Regions from separate parts of the Homo sapiens genome. Here regions 2 and 3 are each linked to region 1. The links are contacts of gene promoters, found by promoter capture Hi-C in human tissues and cell types (Jung and others, 2019). All regions are on one chromosome and are shown on one strand. Each heading gives the region's core, a stretch centred on a gene start or on the middle of the fragment in contact. The rest is flanking DNA. Distances are from core to core; before and after follow the strand shown.

What was found. Contacts are between HindIII fragments. The study calls those that stand out against the background at their distance.
Region 2: the fragment with the promoter of SCNN1D here is called in contact with the fragment with the promoter of ATAD3A in region 1 in 1 of the 25 tissues and cell types used here (lymphoblastoid cells).
Region 3: the fragment with the promoter of CDK11B here is called in contact with the fragment with the promoter of ATAD3A in region 1 in 5 of the 25 tissues and cell types used here (adrenal gland, dorsolateral prefrontal cortex, heart left ventricle and 2 more).

What each region holds. Positions count from the first base shown.
Region 1 is chr1:1,510,156-1,514,180 of GRCh38, forward strand. ATAD3A (ATPase family AAA domain containing 3A) reads left to right here and starts at 2,007. Exons shown (of 16, transcript NM_001170535.3): 1 at 2,007-2,318. The coding sequence starts at 2,114. RefSeq lists silencers at 1,315-1,514, 1,965-2,124 and an enhancer at 1,755-1,814. The HindIII fragment of the contact is 15,639 bases long and covers 1-4,025 here.
Region 2 is chr1:1,278,427-1,282,451 of GRCh38, forward strand. It overlaps SCNN1D (sodium channel epithelial 1 subunit delta), which reads left to right and starts at 2,010. Exons shown (of 18, transcript NM_001130413.4): 1 at 2,010-2,240; 2 at 2,800-2,871; 3 at 2,985-3,184; 4 at 3,816-3,889. The coding sequence starts at 2,236. LINC01786 (long intergenic non-protein coding RNA 1786) reads left to right here. Exons shown (of 3, transcript NR_185846.1): 3 at 642-2,181. The HindIII fragment of the contact is 6,841 bases long and covers 1-2,692 here.
Region 3 is chr1:1,657,754-1,661,778 of GRCh38, forward strand. CDK11B (cyclin dependent kinase 11B) reads right to left here and starts at 1,251. Exons shown (of 20, transcript NM_033486.3): 1 at 1,161-1,251. It overlaps SLC35E2B (solute carrier family 35 member E2B), which reads right to left. Exons shown (of 10, transcript NM_001290264.2): 10 at 3,725-4,025. RefSeq lists enhancers at 1,094-1,816, 1,248-1,337, 1,358-1,637. The HindIII fragment of the contact is 36,520 bases long and covers 1-4,025 here.

The DNA of each region.
Region 1 (4,025 bases), core at 757-3,256:
GGTAGGAGGATCGCCTGAGCATGGGAGGCAGAGGTTGCAGTGAGCTGAGATCGCACCATTGCACTCCAGCCTGGGTGACAGAGTGAGACCCTCTCAATAAATAAATAACCAAAACCTTGATTACAGCCATGGGGTGGGGGTGGGGGGACGTCTGGCTATTGCTGGGGAAGTCATTTGGTTTTTCTCCTCCTCTCCTATTTTTTTGGTACAGACGGGGTCTCTCTTTGTTGCCCAGGCTGGTCTCCAACTCCTGGGCTCAAGCAATCCTCCTGCCTCGGCCTCCCAAACTGGCGGGGTTACAGGCGTGAGCCACCGCGCCTGCCCTGTTTTCTTTTTCTTTTTTTTTTCTTTTCTTTTTTTTTTGGCGATGGAGTCGTGCTCGCCCAGGGTGGAGTGCAGTGGCCTGATCTCGGCTCACTTCAACCTCCACCTCCAGGGTTCAAGCAGTTTTCCCGCCTAAGCCTCCGGAGTAGCTGGGATTACAGGCGCACGCCACCATGCCCAGGTTAATTTTTGTATTTTTGACAGGGGTTTCACCATGTTGGCCCGGCTGGTCTCAAACTCCTGTTTTCAGGTGATCTGCCCACCTCGGCCTCCCAAAGTGCTGGGATTACGGGTGTGAGCCACCGCGCCTGGCCGGCATTTTCTGGCTTTTTTTTTTTTTTTTGACAGAGTCTGACTCAGTCGCCCAGACTGGAGTGCAGTGACGAGATCTCGGCAGCTCACTGTGTTATATGTAAATTTTCTGTGCCGCCAAAGAAGTAGAACTCGAATATAAATTTTTCTCAGCTAGATAATTTACTTCTATAGAAGGGGACATCTCATAGATGGAGCAATGGCGAGCGCTTGGACAAGGGAGGGGAAGGGGTTCTTATTCCTGACGCGGGTAGCCCCTACTGCTGTGTGGTTCCCCTATTGGCTAGGGTTAGAATGCACAGTCTAAACTAGTGCCCATTGGCTATTTTAAAGGGAGCAGGAGTATGGGCCAGAGTGGCGGGGTGAGTGGTTTGGCGGGAAAAATGGTTATGGGACAGGTAACTAAAGGTGACTCAGGTCAAAGCAGGAGACCGGGATTAGTTAGGACGGAGCAGGTGACCAGGGCAACAGATGTCAACTACTGACTAGAACTGGTGGAAAAGGTTGTTTACTGAAACTGCGAGGAAGGTAGACTTTAAAATGCAGGACAAAGACTGAACATACTGATATACTGATTCTTTGAAGGGAAGTTTAGAACTCATTGTATCTAACATTATTCAGGCTTAAAACAGTTTCCAATCCAGTGGGAAAAGTCACTCCATATATTCCGTGAAGTCAACCAGTTCCATCAAGGAGAAAGTCAGGGCCGCTGGGAGCGCGTGGACCGTGGGCTCCGGGGCGGCGCCTGCCCGGGCACCCCGGCCCCGTCCACGCCCCGCAAGAGGAGCTCGCTGGCCCCGCCACGCGGGAAGGGGTCGCCCCGGGGTCTTGGGCGGGAGGGCCGTGCGGGCTGCGGAGACACCGAGGAGGGGAGGCGCCTCTCCTGAGCTCTTGGCGCAGCGACCCCAGGGCGCCGACTCATCGCGGAAGGGCTCGGCTTGCCCGGGCGCCGGTGCCGCCTCGGGTGAGGTTCCCGCGAGACTCTTCTCTGCGTCCTGGACTCACCGCAGGGCGCCCCGCCGCACGGATCGAGAACCTTGGGGCTCCCTGGAAACTTGCCACCCGCTGCCGCCAAGGCCGGAACTCCTCGGAGCCCCTAGCAACGGAGCCCCTAGCAACGGAGCCCACGCGGATGCGGCGCGGGGCTGACGCTGCCTTGGGTTCGCCTACGTCCCTCGGGAATTTTGTCCCGGCGTGGCTCCCGTAGCCAGATGCTTCGCCGCTCCCGCCCCGCTGGCTCCCAAAGCCTGTTCGGCAGTCGCGGCGCCGTCGCTATGGCGTCACTGTCCTCGGGGCCAATCCAAGGGCTGCGCGCGTGTCCCTTACGCGCTTCTATCGCCGGGAGGAAGGGGTGTGTGTGGCGCCTGCGCAGTGGCGGTGACCACCGGCTCGCGGCGCGTGGAGGCTGCTCCCAGCCGCGCGCGAGTCAGACTCGGGTGGGGGTCCCGGCGGCGGTAGCGGCGGCGGCGGTGCGAGCATGTCGTGGCTCTTCGGCATTAACAAGGGCCCCAAGGGTGAAGGCGCGGGGCCGCCGCCGCCTTTGCCGCCCGCGCAGCCCGGGGCCGAGGGCGGCGGGGACCGCGGGTTGGGAGACCGGCCGGCGCCCAAGGACAAATGGAGCAACTTCGACCCCACCGGCCTGGAGCGCGCCGCCAAGGCGGCGCGCGAGCTGGAGCACTCGCGTGAGTGCGGCGGGGCGGGGCGGCGCGGGCGGGCGGGCGGGACGGGCCGGGGAAGCGGGAGCCCTGGCCCTTGCCGCTCCTCGCCGCTGTCGGCAGCCACTTCCCGGGCGAGACTGCGCCCCCGGAGCACCCCCGGCCGGAGCCGTGTCGCGTGCCGGGAGGATCGGACTCTTTCCGTCACCCGTTTGCACCTCTGCAGCTGTCAGGAGCGGGTCAGGTGCGGAAAGCGGTGCGGAGGTGGCGCTCATAGGTTACAGGGGTCAGGGTCTGGGGCTGGCCGTGGTCTTCAGTTACCGCCGAGCGTGCGGGATCCTTCTGCGCTTGCCGCCTCCACGTGGCACAGGCCAAGGCGTGGCCAGATGGGTAGATGGGTTTGTTGGGTGGTTGCTAGCAGTTTCCACGTAACAAGGGAAGCGTATTTGAGAGTTACTTGATTCTAACGAGACTAGCAGATTTGCACTTCTTGTTGGAAGACGTTAGCATTTGCACGGCGAGGTCTGTGAAGCCACAGGCCAGGCCGTGCTGCTCAGCTTGAGTAAACCCCTGACCCAAGGCCCTCAGGGTGTGAGCACTCACCATGTTGTTCAGGCTGGTCTTGAATTCTGGCCTCAGGTGATTCGCCCACCTCGGCCTCCCAAAGCGCTGGGATGACAGGCGTGAGCCGCTGCTCATGGCCTTCCTCGGTAATTTTAACCATCAGGTTAGGATGGGAATCAAGGGCTGGACTTCAGGGCACCTCGGAGGACAGCGGATGTTGGTGACTGACTTTCTTGCTGCAGGCTTATTTGGAGGGTTCCTTTGTGTCCTAGTTCCTGGGGGTTTTCACCCGCTAACTTCACTTAGAGATTGAAACTTCTCCCACTTCCAGAAGCTGAATCGTAGTGATCAGCCTGCGGCCCCCTGCAGTGGTACAGGCCTGGTTGAGCAGCCTCAGGCCGCCTCCCCATAGTGCAGACCTGTGCCTCTGAGTTGCTCCAGTCCTGGCGGCCCCGGAGCTCCTGACCCGCAGTCCGCTCTGCCGGCGTTGCCAGTGCCTTGGTCTGCCCTCTCTGTGGTGGAGCGGGGCCCGGGGCAGGGTCTCCAGGTGCACCGTGGGGAGCCCTCCATCAGGCTTTTGTTTCCTGTGGATTGTGTTCCAGGTGTGGGCTCTTTCATTCTGATCCCTTCCCTCCTTCCTGGCCTCACTGCTGGCAGGTGAGAGAGGTTTCTCCAGAGTTGACTGCCCCCTTTCCCCGGGTGCCCCCTGCCCTGCCCCTCTGCCTGGTAGCCCCTCTGCAAGCCCGGCCCCTCCCGACGCTCCTGGCTTCCTCCGTGCCCCTTTCCTGGCAGCGGGTCGCCGAGATTCGGCCGGAGCCCATTGCTTTGTCCTTGCTGCTCTCCAGGCAAACGGGCGGCTCCTCCTCACCGACTGCCTCCTCTGTCCCTTGAGGCTATAGCCCCATGCCGCCTGGTTCCCAGAGTGCCCTGACCCCTCCTCCGGCCTGTCCTTGGAAGTCACAGCAGTACATTATCCCAGAACTGTCTGTGAGCACCAGCGCTCGCCCTGCACTCCACAGAGGGGGTGCCTGGAGGAGAGCCTCGTGCCCTGTGGGTGTGAATTCACGCGCTGGGACGCACGTCCCTGGCACAGGGTCACACCAAAGTGGTGAATGATTGTTCTCACTCTAATAACCGAGAGGCCACACGGGCACCTGACCTGCTCTTTCC
Region 2 (4,025 bases), core at 760-3,259, 230 kb before region 1:
ACAGCAGCTTTAAGGCAGGCAGCAAAGGAAACAGAGAGATAGAGAACTTAGGAACTCTATAGTTCTTTTTTTTTTTTTTTTTTGAAACAGAGTTTTGTTCTTGCAGCCCTGGCTGGGGTGCAATGGCACGATCTCAGCTCACTGCAACCTCCGCCTTCTAGATTCAAGCTATTCTCCTGCCTAAGCCTCCCAAGTAGCTGGGATTACAGGTGCATGCCACCACGCTCGGCTCATTTTTGTATTTTTAGTAGTGATGGGGTTTCACTCTGTCGGTCAGGCTGGTCTCGAACTCCTGACCTCAGGTGATCCGCCCGCCTTGGCCTCCAAAAGTGCTGGGATTACAGGCGTGAGCCACTGCGCCTGGCCAGGAACTCTATGGTTCTGTAGTTGCAGGCTGACCTTTGGGCTCTGAATTTTTCCTGGATGGAATTTGCCCATCAGTTTAAAATGTGCCCCAAAAGACCATAATATGGAACCAGCTGGGGCACTAGGAAACCCAGCATGCCCGCGACATGTTCAGTTTTATACCAACACTTGCAGGTAGAGGCGCCTGAAACCAGCGGGGTGCCTGGAAGGAGGTCGCCCTCTTGTCTTTGCTGAGGCTTACATTATTTATTTCCCACTTTTTTTTTTCTTGAAAGGAACCGAGCTGTGGCCTGGGGTTCCATGGAGCAGGTGGGGCGCGGAGGAACTGAGCTGTGGCCTGGGGTTCCGTGGAGCAGGTTGAGTATGGAGGAACTGGGGTTCCGTGGAGCAGGTGGGGCGCAGAGGAACCGAGCTGTGGAATGGGGTTCCGTGGAGCAGGTTGAGTGTGCCGGTCGTGGACGGGTCGTGGGCGGGACTCCCCAGTGTGTCACCACTGAGGCATCTTCGCCCTCTTACGTGTCTCTGTTTCTCTCTCTAGAAGTCCAACACCTCCGAGAGGACTCAAAACACAGAGTGACCAGCTCCTATGTGCATTTCCTGGACAAACCTTTTTTTTTTTTTTTTTTTTGAGACGGAGTCTCGCTCTGTCGCCCAGGCTGGAGTGCAGTGGCACGATCTCGGCTCACTGCAAGCTCTGCCTCCCGGGTTCACGCCATTCTCCCGCCTCAGCCTCCCAAGTAGCTGGGACTACAGGCTCCCGCCACAATGCCCGGCTAATTTTTTGTGTTTTTAGCAGAGACGAGGTTTCACCGTGTTAGCCAGGATGGTCTCGATCACCTGACCTCGTGATCCACCCGCCTCGGCCTCCCAAAGTGCTGGGATTACAGGCGTGAGCCACTGCACCCAGCAGACAAACCTTTTTAAACTAATTGTGTTGGGGGGTTCCCTGTGGGGCTGCTGCACGTCGTGGGGGATCAGCCCACGAGATACTCCCACTTGGCTCACAGTCACCCAGGGGCGCCTTTCAGCTGGGAGGAGCAAAATGCCTTTCTTTCTGGAGCTGAGAAAACTCAGTCTCTCATTTATCTATGCAAAGAACAATTCAGTTCCTCATGCAAATGCACGCACAAGCCAGTTGGGCTTAATTTTGGGAGAAAAAGCAACAGAGAAGACCCTTAGGAACGCACGTCCGAGCTAGAAACCAAATGGGGTACCCAAAAGGGAGTCGTTCTCCTTGTCTTAAGAAAAAGGTGGCCGGGCGCAGTGGTTCACACCCGTAATCTCAGCACTTTGGGAGGCCGAGGCAGGCGGATCACCAGGTCAAGAGATCAAGACCAGCCTGGCCAATATGGTGAAACCCCATCTCTACTAAAAAAATATACAAAAATTAGGCTGGGCGCAGTGGCTTATGCCTGTAATCCCAGCACTTTGGGAGGCCGAGGTGGGCGGATCACGAGGTCAGGAGATCGAGACCATCCTGGCTAACACGGTGAAACCCCGTCTCTACTAAAAATACAGAAAATTAGCCAGACGTGGTGGCGGGCGCCTGTAGTCCCAGGTACTCAGGAGGCTGAGGCAGGAGAATGGCGTGAACCCGGGGGGCGGAGCCTGCAGTGAGCCGAGATCGCGCCACTGCCCTCCAGCCTGGGCGACAGCGAGACTCCATCTCAATAAATAAAAAAAAAAAAGAGTTGTTATCAGTAGAAGGGAATGTCTGGTTACAGTATGGCGTTGTGCAGATGAAGGTCTTATCGCAGATGAAGCCACCAGGTCACAAGCCTCAGAGAGAATCAACTATAAATGCTTCTCATCAGACTCAAGGCCTGAGGTGATGCTGATGCTGTGCCTGAATTCCAGCAGGGAGGAGGCATGAGGTGCGTCCGACTCCCTTCCCATCACAGCTGAGCTAGTTTTTCAGGTTAACTTTGGAATGCCCATGGCTAAGACCAGGGGTCCATCCAGACAGTTCAGGGCTTATAATTTTATTTTTGGTTTATGAGGGAACCTAGAAGGCAGCCCACACGCACCTTACTCCTCCCAGCAGGGGACACCGGCCAGACCCCAAGCTCCACACTCCCACCCTCAGCACCCACCCAGGCCAGCAGCCGGGGGCACCTTGGTGCCACCTTAGTGCCTGTTCTGCGGAGGCTCCACTGGACAGTGCAGTTGATGCCCGGGGCCGAGGGGGCTCTGCCTGGGAGGCTGTTCACCTGCCTGGGTGCAGGACCCCAGAGGGACCCCAGGCCACCCCTGGCCTGCCCATGCCCACGGGAATCCCGACCTTGGGCTGCCTGTCTATTGCACCAGAACCGTCCCAGGGCTGACTCAGAGTGACCCTGAGTGGGGGACGCTCACCCCAGGGGAGGAAACGGGGCTCTGGGATAGGAGGTCCTGGCTGGGGTCCCACAGATGCCAGGCGCCTGCCATCTCCAGGGCAGTGCTGTCACAGAAGACAACACCGCTCCCTCGTTACCTGTGGCCCGGCCACCTCAGCGGCCCAAGGAGGTGAGCTCACAGCCATGCTCGGTCAATGGGGCCTGGCCGTCTTTCCTGGGAGAGAGCAGAGGCATGGGCCCAAAGGGAGCCAGGGATGCCTGCCCGTCCCTTCTCTCATTCAGGCTCACCTGGTCATGGTGCAGTGACCACAGGACCCCCACATGCCGGGAGCTGGGTTCGCCCCACCCCACCCCCTGCACCGGGCCAGCGAGGGGATGGCCCAGAAGAGGGGGAGGACCATGTGGATTCACCAGTGCTGGACATGTGCTCTGTGGCTACCCCCTCTGCCTACTCTCTGGCCCGATACAGGGGTGTGGGACAGGTGACTGAACCTCAGCCCTTAGAGGCCTTGCCCGGGAGGAGGGGAGGGGGGTGGAGCCGGGAGCTGCGTGATCCAGCCGAGATGTGCTCTGACTGAGGCCCTGCAGGGCATACGGGTCATGGAAGGGGTGCTCTGCCCCCGGCCAGGGCTCCCCCTCCTACAGGAAGCCGGGGGCCTTGCTCCTGCAAGCTGCCCTTTGGCTGGACCGGGCCCCACTGGCCGGACCTGGGCTCTTTCTCTCTCTGCACCCTGCACCAAGGCTGGGCTGTCTGCCAGGCCACTCCCGGGGACACAGGGAGGCACAGGCTGCTTCCAGCCACAATCTCTGGCAAGCACCTAGGACCTTGTCCCCGCCTGCCAAGTAGCCGCCCGGGCCATGTGTGCCCTGTCTCCTCGGCAGGTGCGGCCCACGCACAAAGCTGCCCAGATGTGGTGGGGGAGAAGCCCCAGGCCTGTGCTGTGTCCGGGGGCCCTGCCGCTGACCTGTGGGGTCTCTGTGACATCAGCAAGCCCCCTGCCGCGAGCTTGGAGAGGCACCCCAGCCCCATCTGGCACTCAAGGAAATCAGCTCAGAGAGGTTGAGTAACTCGGGAAGGCCACACAGCCAGTGACGAAGCTGTGATTCACACAGGCCTGGGTGACTCCAGCATGGCTTTCCTCTCCAGGACGTCACCGGTGGCAGCTGCTTCCTTCCAGAGCCGGCAGGCAGGTGACCTCACCCTCCTCAGAGCCATGGCTCTGCTGCTGGACCCTGTGGGGCTGGGCTCCCCCAGCCAAGCCCAGGGACCCAGCACCACTTGGGGCAGGATGTCAGGAACACAGAGCCTACCCTTCCAACCTG
Region 3 (4,025 bases), core at 1-2,500, 150 kb after region 1:
CCCAGTGTGGTGGCGCGTGCCTGTATTCCTAGCTACAGGAAGGAGGCTGCTAGAGGCAGGAGGATCACTTGAATCAGAGAGGTCAAGGCTGCAATGAGCCAAGACTGCGCCACTGCACTCCAGCCTAGATAACAAAGTAAGACTTGGTTAAAAAAAAAAAAAAAAAAAAAAAAGTAAGCTCTAGGCTGAGGCGGGTGGATCACAAGGTCAGGAGGTCAAGACCAGCCTGGCCAACACGGCGAAAACCCTGTCTCCACTAAAAATACAAAACTTAGCTGGGCGTGGTGGCGGGTGCCTGTAATCCCAGCTACTCGGGAGGCCGAGGCAGCAGAATCGCTTGAATCCGAAAGGCGGAGGTTCCGGTGAGCCGAGGTCGCGTCACTGCACTCCAGCAAGACCCCGTCTCAAAAAAAAAAGAAAAAAAAACAAGAATGATAAGTTGTAAGCCAGGCAAGGTGGCGAGCGCCTGTAGTCCCATATACTCTGCAAGCTGAGATGGGAGACCGATTGAGCCCAGGAGTTCCAGGCTGAAGTGCGCTTGTGAACAGCCACTGCGCTGCAGCATGGGCGACAAAAAAGAGTGATGGGTTCTGAAAAATGACCGCTTGAAATCAAGTCTCGTTTCTGTCATTCTTGTATGGTCTTGGGTAACGTAATTCACCTCAGTTTAGTCTTCCGTACAACCAGAATAACAACACCTACGTGATAGTATCGATCGCGGATTAAAGATCATCCGTTTAAAGGCTCTTAACTCAGGACCTGCCACTCATCAAACACTGCTTTTACTGTCAGAATCTGCTAGAAAGACCGCTTGGACTACGTGAAGCCACTAGCACACTGGACAGCTGCACCTTGAGACCGGGGAGATGCTCCGAGATGTGCTCGCGAACAAGGCCACCTGACCCGGGCACTGGGCTATTTCCTCGGGTTCAGTCCCGCACACTTGAGGTTCAGCCTGGCAGACGTTGGCTCCAGACAGCGTTTGGACCCGCCGCCTCCACCACCCAAAGTTCCGTGCGGGATGAGACTGTCCGCGGAAGCGAGGGTGTCGCTCGCCCCCGGGCCCGGGTCCGCCCCGCTCCGAGGCCTGCTCGGAAGAAAGACCTCGGTGCGCAGTTCTCCTCGCGCTCCCACACCTGGTCCGCCCAGTCGGAACTCACCCCTACGCCGCCGCCGCTGCCGCCGCCGCCGCCGCCGGTCCCGGAGCCAGAGAAGAAACAGCAACCGGCGCGCGCCAAAAGTATCGTCACTTCCTGTATTGGCGCGTAATGATGATATAATAGCCGACCTCCGGCCCAGAACTCGAGACAACGACAGGGGCTCGCTCTGTGCGGCACTTCCTGTGTCTGCGCGGGATGATAACGCATAAAACAGCGCTTGCTCAGGTCCAGGACGCCAGAAGAAACAGCCCGGTGAGCGCACTTCCGACTTCGGCGCGGGCTGTGACGCAGGAATCGGGACTCCGGAGGAGCGACGCCCACTTTTGGAGCAGTTTGCGCCTGCGCGGAACGCGTGGCCGGCTTCCGGAATCCTACCGGGACTTTTCCGGTAGCGAAGCCCGCGCCTGTGCCAAGGCTTGCGAGCAGAATGCCTTCGCGATGGACGCCCGCATTCCACCCCCTTGACCGCTGGGACCCCTAGTGGCGGGTGGGTGGAGCGCGCTCCATTTACCTGCTGGTTACCTCGTGAGGCGCCTCAGGTCTGTGTGTCTTGTAAAGGCCGATCTCGGAATTTAACTCTGAACCTTACTCAGAAACAGGGCAGGGAGAGCTCTTACGATGTGATTTTATTTTATTTATTCATGTATTTACTTTTGAGTCGGAGCCTTGCTCTGCCGCCCAGGTTGGAGTGCAGTGGCGTGGTCTTGGCTCACTGCAGCCTCCTCCCGGGTTCAAGGAATTTTCCTGCCTCAGCCTCCCGAGTAGCTGGAACCACAGGCCCGCGCCACCACGCCCGGCTAATTTTTATATTTTTGGTAGAGACGAGGTTTCGCCATATTGGCCAGGCTGGTCTCGAACTCCTGACCTCAAGTGATCCGCCCGCTTCGTCCTCCTAAAGTGCTGGGATTACAGGCGTGAGCCACCGCGCCCGGCCTTTTACAATGTGATTTTGAAGCTGACACTGGCAGTGGGTCCTCAAAGTGCAGACTCACTGGGTATGGTGCTTCCCCCAACTCCCAGGGCCCCACTCCAAACCCATGGATTCAGAGCATTGCAGGAGAAGAGGATAAAACGAGCAATTAATTCCCTTTCCATATGTCAGGTTTTCCTCTTGACTTGAAAAGTCACAGAAAAATGCTTTAGACATCTGAATCTCAGGAAACAAACAATGGAAGATAAACATCCGCATTTACTGGGCCTGAAATGGGAAAATGAAAGATGTGGCAAGAAACTGACAAGGGCCCAAGAAGGGCGATGGGTATCGGAATTTTTTTCATCCCGGAATGAAATGCTGCTTGCTTTGTGTACCCAAGCTCTTTTTTTATTTTTATTTTTTTGAGACGGAGTCTCGCTCTGTTGCCCAGGCTGGAGTGCAGTGGCGCGATCTCGGGTCACTGGAAGCTCCGCCACCCGGGTTCACGCCATTCTCCCGCCTCCACTCCATTCGCCCGCATTAGGCTCCTGAGTACCTGTGACTACAGGCGCCTGCCACCATGCCCGGCTAATTTTTTTTTTATTTTGGGTAGAGACGGGGTTTTACCGTGTTAGCCAGGATGGTCTCAATCTCCTGACCTCGTGATCAGCCTGCCTCTGCCTCCCAAAGTGCTGGGATTACAGGCGTGAGCCACCGCGCCTGGCCTCCCCCAAGCTCTTAATGTTGCTTCCTGAGTTCTTGGTAACTGGGGAAATCTCCCTATTTTTTTATTTTTATTTTTTTTTGAGACGGAGTCTTGCTCTGTCGCCCAGGCTGGAGTGCAGTGGCGCAATCTCGGCTCACTGCAAGCCCCACCTCCCGGGTTCAACGCCATTATCCTGCGAGCCTCAGCCTCCCGAGTAGCTGGGACTACAGGCGTCCACCACTACGCCCGGCTAATTTTTTTGTGTTTTTAGTTGAGATGGGGTTTCACTGTATTAGCCAGGATGGTCTTGATCTCATGACCTTGTGATCTGCCTGCCTTGGCCTCCCAAAGGGTTGGGATTACAGGCGTGAGCCACAGCACGTTTTTTTCTGTTTTGAGAAAAAGTCTCGCTGTGTCACCCAGGCTGGAGTGCAGTGGCACAATTTTGGGTAACTGCAGCCTCCGCCTCCTGGGTACAAGTGATTCTCCTGCCTCAGCCTCCCGAGTAGCTGGGATTATAGGCGTGCGCCACCACACCTGGCTAACTTTTGTATTTTTAGTAGCGACAGGATTTTGCCATGTTGGCCAGGCTGGTCTTGAACTCCTGACCTAAAGTATCTGCCCACCAGCCTCCCACAGTGCTGAAATTATAGTCATGAGCCACCGTGCCCGGCCAAAAATCTCCAGTTTACCCTTCCTTTGTGAAATCTGTGAGTACCCAAATGCAGCCACTCATGTCAAACCCTAACAAAATCGACCCCAGAGCCCACGAGGAGGGGGTGGCCTCGCACTTGCGCTTGATAGGAGCTGCCACAAAGGCCTTTCCCAACCAGAACTTTGGGTTCAGCCACTTCTGTGAAGAGCCTCTTTGCTAGCAACAGCCAGCCCCACCGGTGAACAAAGTAGCATGAACACCAGAGTTCCACAAGGAAGAAAACAAAGCAGTCCATATTTAACATTTATTTTACTTTGCTGAGCAAGAATCATAGACAGCTACTACCACGGCTGCTTCGTTTGGACAAAAATAACGAGGAGGCATCCACGGGATTAGTTACACGGTATCAACTTACCACCACAGCAGAATCAACAGTGACTCGCTAATTAACAGAACCGTTTGCTAGAAAGCACTAATCTAGTTATATAAATACTGAAATAGGTCACATGCAAAACACTATAAACGTTTTGTGTGATGTACTTTTAGTTCTCCATAGTTTTGTTTGGTATAAAGGAAATATAATTTGGCTGT